2 separate regions of the Homo sapiens genome follow, and region 2 is linked to region 1. Evidence: promoter capture Hi-C in 16 types of primary human blood cells and fetal thymus (Javierre and others, 2016). All regions are on one chromosome and are shown on one strand. Each heading gives the region's core, a stretch centred on a gene start or on the middle of the fragment in contact. The rest is flanking DNA. Distances are from core to core; before and after follow the strand shown.

Evidence for each region. Contacts are between HindIII fragments. The CHiCAGO score rates a contact against its expected background, and 5 or more counts as called.
Region 2: a fragment that was not itself captured here is called in contact with the fragment with the promoter of RABGGTB in region 1 in 1 of 17 cell types (M1 macrophages); the score reaches 5.9 in M1 macrophages.

The regions. Positions count from the first base shown.
Region 1 is chr1:75,784,741-75,788,364 of GRCh38, reverse strand. It overlaps RABGGTB (Rab geranylgeranyltransferase subunit beta), which reads right to left and starts at 2,109. Exons shown (of 9, transcript NM_004582.4): 1 at 2,091-2,109; 2 at 761-868. The coding sequence starts at 2,093. SNORD45C (small nucleolar RNA, C/D box 45C) reads right to left here and starts at 1,293; the gene lies at 1,216-1,293. It overlaps SNORD45A (small nucleolar RNA, C/D box 45A), which reads right to left and starts at 476; the gene lies at 393-476. RefSeq lists a silencer at 2,018-2,077 and enhancers at 2,138-2,367, 3,308-3,527. The HindIII fragment of the contact is 7,492 bases long and covers 1,379-3,624 here.
Region 2 is chr1:77,275,193-77,278,500 of GRCh38, reverse strand. No RefSeq gene overlaps it. Among named protein-coding and RNA genes, the nearest start is that of AK5, 5.2 kb to the left of the region's middle. The HindIII fragment of the contact is 1,585 bases long and covers 1,037-2,621 here.

The sequences.
Region 1 (3,624 bases), core at 860-3,359:
ACCGCTGTCCTCCAGTCTGGGCAACAAAGTGAGGTTATAGCTCTCAAAAGGAAAAAAAGAAGTTTTTTTAACAGGTGGTGCATCTTAGTTTGCTACTAACCCAAATTCAGGGCATAAAGATAGATAGCAGATAAAGGCAGAAACGAGTCCAGCCCCATCCATATGGCCTTAACTCCATGATTGCTAATAGAGTATTTTCAAGGTTATGGGAACCTAACACTTAAGTAAAAAATTAATACATACCATATATCCCACAAATCGGTAGACTAAGACAACTGAGTTTGGATACTACAGGGAAAAACATTTACTCTTAACTAAGTTGTTTACTACTTTTTGCTAAGATTGTCCCAGAGTTTTCCTCGAAATTTAAAAATTTAAGGTAAAACTTTTTCAAGGTCTCAGAGTAATTCTAGAGCTAAAGTGTTATTACACATCAGCAATAGATTCAGATAATACATGCCAACACATCATTGACCTTGAAAGTATTACCCCTAACTACAAAAAGAGAAACCCGTTTTGTACCTCAAACCCTCATCTACTTTGTCTGGCAAGCCCTCTCAGTATAGGTAAAAACTGAGATTCTAATAAGCCCACAGCCTCAGACGTCCAAAGCACACTTAACTGAAGTTCAAAGGCACAGCACATCCTCAGTTCTCTGCATGGAGTTGGATGCCATTTTAAGACATAAATACTGTCTCACTGCTTATGACTGTCACACTTCTTTAAAATAAACTTTCCAACATAAAAAAATTATACATACATAATCATCTTTCTTTGAGCCATAGGATGCGATATAATCTGCATGTTTCTCCAATAACAAAGTGTCCGGTGCATCTGACTTGATAATAACATCCTTCTGTGGAGTGCCCTTTCAAAATAAAGTGGTAATCTCATCAATGTTTACCTCTACAACGTTCTTCTGCCCCACAGCATAGATTCAACATACATCTCAATTTTCACTTGATTTCATCTTGTAATAGGAAAACGTTCCATTTAAAAATTGTAACTAACTAGGGAGGCTGAGGTAGAAGATCGCTTGAGCCAGGGAAATTAAGGCTGCAGTGAACTGAGGTTGTGTCACTGCACTCCATCCTGGGCGACCGGAGACCGACTCAAAAACAAAACCAAAACAACAACAACAACAACAAATTGTATCCAACAAAAAAGAACTTAAATCATTCAGGCTTCGTCTTAGTCACGATTCAGGTAATTTTCAGGTCTCAGAGTAATTCTAGAGCTAAAGTAGTAATAATCAACTTTAGATTCAGAATACATGCCAACTCATCATTGACCCAAAAAATTACCACCAGCATTTCTTGTTGTTCACTTTTCATTCAAAAAGATAAGTAAAAAATAAACACCATAGAATATCAAAGCTTATCATTTCAGGACAACTTACGGTTTACATGTGGCAGAAAGCATATTTTTAAAAAATAAAAAAATCTAACCCTTAACTTGCAAGCGAATTCTTGCTTAATCAAATGCAGGTTTCAAAGCACCTTCTAAGTACCCCAAAAGTTGTTCAAATGTATTAAATAAGCAGTTCCTTTAGCTCCATCTTCTCCACCTTTAATCCGAGTCTCTGTATTTGCAGAAGTCCCCATGTGATGCGGCTCTAGTTCTTTTCGTATCTATATCTTCCTCATTGAGAGTACACTGCAGTCACTATAACAGGTCATGAAGATTACCGGAAGTGATTAAGTACCGAATTTTCTTCTGATCCCATTAAAAATCTTAAAGCGAGACCACATCACTAACGATTTTAAAGAAATCTTTGACACCCCCTCTCCAAGAAAAAAAAAAGCCACCAATCAGCCACAGCTTTTTAGAGGGGTTCAGAAATCGGGCTGCTCAACTCTTAACAGGCCCTCCCTACAGAAGAAGGCCTGGATAAAATTAGAAGCGGCATTGCCCGCGAGGTCTGCAGAAAACGCTGAGTAATATTTCACACTCAAAAAACCTTCCAAGGCCTGTGTCCTAACCATTCTCCAGCACCAGGAAACCAATCCTAAGGTGACCAGTGTGCTTAACCCTACTCCACCCTGTCTGCTACCAACCCATCCGGACAGCAGCGCTAAACTCACACTTACCATGTCTAACAGGGAAAGGAGAGAGCAGGGTCAGTTCCTGGGTAGACTTAGGAGCCGGGCGCCTGCGCAGATGCGCCTCTCAGGCCCCCATCGCGCTCCGATATAGCTGACCACACTTTCGCCTGCAAGGCAGAGCAGTTCCACGGCTGCCGTAGGACCCCACTGATCGCTCATAGGTGTCCTCACTGCCTGCGTCCAAAGTCCTGCGACCATATGCTTGTCCCATAGTCACTCCGATTTGTCTAGAAACAGTTTTAAATAATATTTAAATATCTGAGTTGCTTTTAAGAAATCATTTGTTCTAGCTGGACGCGGTGGCTTACGCCTGTAATCCCAGCACTTTGGGAAGCCGGACAGCAGGATTGCTTGATCCTAGGAGTGTAACCACCCAATATTGTGGTTCACTTTGCCTGCTGCTGACCGATAGCCCATTTATCAAGACAGGGGACTTGCAATGGAGTCTCCCCAAGCAGTATTCAGAGTTTTTAAAGATAATTCGGCGATTAGGGGCTTGGGAAGTAGGGAGTGCTGATGGGTCAGGTTGGAGATGGACTCATAGTGGGTAGACGTGAGTTTTTCTTGCTGTTTTCTGTTCCTGGGTAGGATGGCAGAACTGGTTGAGCCAAATTACCAATCTGGGTGGTTTCAACTGATCCATGGAGAGCAGGGTCTGCAAAATATCTCAAGAACTTATCTTAGGTTTTACAATAGTGATGTTATCCCCAGGAGCAATTTGGGGAGGTTCAGAAACTTGGAGCCAGAGGCTGCATGACCTCTAAACTGTAATTTCTAATCTTGTAGCTAATCTGTTGGTTCTGCAAAGGCAGACTGGTCCCCAGGCAAAAAAGCGGTCTTTTTGGGAAAGGGATATTATCAATTTTGTTTCAGAGTCAAACCATAAACTGAATTCCTCCCTAAATTGGTTCAGCCTAGGCTCAGGAATGAAGAAGGACAGCTTAAAAGTTAGAAGCGGCCGGTGGCTCACGCCTGTAATCCCAGCACTTTGGGAGGCCAAGGCGGGCGGATCACGAGGTCAGGGGATCGAGACCATCCTGGCTAAAACCCCGTCTCTACTACAAATACAAAAAATTAGCCGGGCGTGGGGGTGGGCGCCTGTAGTCCCATCTACTCCTGAGGTTGAGGCAGGAGAATGGCTTAAACCCGGGAGGCGGAGCTTGCAGTGAGCAGAGATCACGCCACTGCACTCCACCCTGGGCGACAGAGCGAGACTAGTCTCAAAAACAAAAGTTAGAAGCAAGATGGAATCCGTTAGGTCTGATTTCTTTCACTGCCATAATTTCCTCAGTTATAATTTTGCAAAGGCGGTTCCAGGAGATCCAGACCAGCCTGGGCAATGTTGCAAGACCCCCGTCTCTACAAATAATAAAAATATGAGCCAGACGTGGTTGCCCAAGCCTGTGGTTTCAGCTACTGGGGAAGCTGAGGTGAGAGAATTACTTGAGCTGTGGGGCAGGGGGTGGAGGCTACAGTGAGCGGTGATAATGCCACTGCACTGCAGGGTGTGAGACAGAAC
Region 2 (3,308 bases), core at 580-3,079, 1.5 Mb before region 1:
GCAACCACTTCAAATGTCCTAGCAAGGGCAGATTCCTGGCACTTTCTGGCAACAGCAAGGAGGCTAGTGTAGCAGGAACAGGGTGAGGAAGGAGAAGAACAGAGAGGAATGGGGCCAAAGCACTTGGGACCTTGTAAACCATTGTCAGTTCTTCTCTAATGGGAAGTTAGAGAAACGTTTCAAGCCAAGACTAATATGATCTGACTTACATTTTAAAAGGCTTCTCTGTCTGCTGGTTTAGGTATATGTAAGAGAGAAAAGGTAGGAGTGGGGAGAACACTTGGAAGGCTATTGTGACTCAGGTGTGAGGTGACGAAGGCATGGACTCAAATATTGGCAGCAGAGACAATGAGAACTGGTTAAATCCTAGATATATTTTGAAGATAGAACAAATAGGGTTTCTTGACAGCTTGGATGTAGTATATGAGAGAAAAAGAAATCCTCAAGTATGACTTCATGGTTTTTGGCCTGAGGATAGTGTGGAGACAATTAATTGGCCTCAAGAGGCTTACTAACTTACAAAATTATTTAATAGTTAGATGGTAAAGAACTCTATGCAACCCAGAGAAGCAACAGGACAACTGGCTCTGAAGGGAGTCTGGCAGATGGTAGGTTCTCCCTACTGCTTACTGACCGTATTTCTTCATTTTCATCTGCAACCCTTGGCTTATAGCAGCCATTTGAGCTCTAAAGGTAACCTACATGTTAGGTTGACTCACACATTGTACAACCTCTGTGCAAGTGGAAGAGGGGAATTTACACTTGCTTCAGGATATGCTTTCAACTTAAATGTTTTAGAACTTCAATGTCCATTCTGCACGAATATTTTACCTGCCCATGCGAAATCTGTAATTCCATCAAATCTAGTCTTCATCCATCAACCAGTAATCCTAACTTGGCTATGATAGATATAAATAAGGGAGCAACTTGAACTCCAAAGACCCTCTAAGTTTCAAAGCTGCAGGTAAAATACAGAGAGAAACATTATTGTTTTGATTTAAAGAAATATTCTAACATATGCTTAGAACTAAAAGCTTTTGGAGGTCTTAGAGAAAAACGAACAGATCATTTTTAACAGATTATTTTTTAAAACAGATTTTTAAAAATTTGTTTTCACAGAATGCAAATAACACATTTAAGTTTTTATTATATTATTATTTTTATCATTATTGACAAGCAGCAATTCTGTTGAGCCTAGAGGCCTAAAATTTCTAAGTCATACATATGTATCAGGACCAGTATGCCCTTCTGAGTTGTTTACATTGCTTATTTTTGTCTTTACTATATGTCTCATGAACAATGTATTAGTGTTGCATACACTAATCAGCCGAGGATGAGTAAGATAAAATCTTTCCATCCAAGGAATAAAATGTGTTTTTTCTCAGTAGTCACAAGGCATTCATGTTGGTGTGCTGGAAAATTTTAAAACTTACCAGAATTTACCATCTGTTCCTGTTTTTAGCTAGTCTGTTTAACCACGTTTCTTCTATTAATTGTCCTTCTGCAATACAATTAACATTTACACTGTTTTTCTAATCAGATGAAATCATAAAATTAAAGATCTATTGGAGATATATGAGTAGTGATTAAGTTAAAGAGGTCCCTTCCCCAAATAAATCAACATTTTAGATTGTGCAGAGGAAAACTAATACCAAAACATTTCTCCAAGAATGTCCCTCTCTTGTGCAAAAATGTTGAGTGGCCACCATTTTCTTCACCATCCATTATGGTACTCACTAGCGTCACATGGCTATTTACACTTAAATATTAGATTGGTGCAAAAGTAATTGCAGTTTTTGCCATTTGCAATTATTTTTAATGGCAAAAACTGCATTTACTTTTGCACCAACCTGACAAATACAATTAGTTTCCTGTTTTGTACTTAGTCAAATATTTCCATACCTCCAAGGCTCCATTTAAAGACAACCTTCTCTCTAAAAGCCATCTTTATTTAGCCCTAATGGATTTAAGTGATTTCTTCCTTTATCCTCTTTAGAATGTTACTTGTACCTCTATCCTGCCTTCTTCCTTATTTATGTACCTTTGTTTTTCTCATCTGCCTTGACCCAAAAATGTGTCTTCATGGTTTACCCTTATGCAGTTTATCATGTACATAATAAATACTCTAAAATTATGATTTGAATAATTTATAATACATTTAAATATTACTTCTGTTTTGTGAGCATATGCAGCCCCATTGCTTGATGTGCTTTGAATTTGTAAATGTATTTGCTCCGTTATTTTCTAGGGTTATCATTTTCAAATTCTATCAACATTAACTAATCTTGAGATGTCGGGGAAAAGAAGACTAATTGCAGCAAGTTATAGACCCAAGTTTCTCTATTCATGACTATGATTTGTGCTCGAGTATTTGAATTGCCTTCATGATTATCTCTCATGCCTGTAGCTAACAAACAGGATGCAATTTAAATCAAACAAATAGAGTGTCTACTAATCCCTGATAATTGGTGCTAGGTGTCCTTCCCATCCAGCTGTCCCTGGTCACCAGTTTTACAGAATCGCAATCATTAGGACAGAAAAAGATTGTTATGAGCTTGTTCGTGCCGTTTCTAAAAACTAGCCTGTTGTTACACTTCCATTATTTGGATCAAAACAAAGCTTCTCATCAGTTAATCTATTTTCAAATTACAAGCTCCAAATAGATTCTCAGAGGTCATTAATCATCTCACCTCCAGAAAATACAACACAAGCCCATGGCATATTCCTTTTAAGGAAATGTTGTATTGTGTTCCTCTTGTCTTCCACAATATTCTTGTTTGTAATTTTCAGAAATTGGAAGGTGATATTTGTTAAGATTATTTCATGCTAATGAAATGTTGGAAGTCTCAATGTTGGAACTACTTTTGATGCAGACATTTTTGCTCCTTAGTTCAGCTAAAACGAGGTTCTTGTCCTGCAACCAGGAAAGATTAGGCATGCAGACACATTGAAAGGTGAGGAGAGCAGAATTTATTAAAAGAAAGCTCTCAGCAAAAAAAGAAGAGGTCCTGCTAATAGGCTCCCACCTCACAGATTGAACAGAACGCCAGGCCACCACCCATGGGCTGAAGAGGCCAGGCTCCTCCCTGCTGCGCAAGGAACGAATTCCTGTGGCTCCACCCCATCCCCCCAGTGCTCATGTGGGCACTATTCAGAAAGAATTAGTTGAGAAAGGGTGGGTAAACAGGGGCAGTTCTCCCTCTGGGTCTGGGTTTCATCTGGGACCAGCAGTCTGCTCTGTCAGCCTTCAGGCTGTTTTAGGCTTGAAGGTGGGATTTCGCCGGGGATCCTTGGTTATCTCCTGTCTC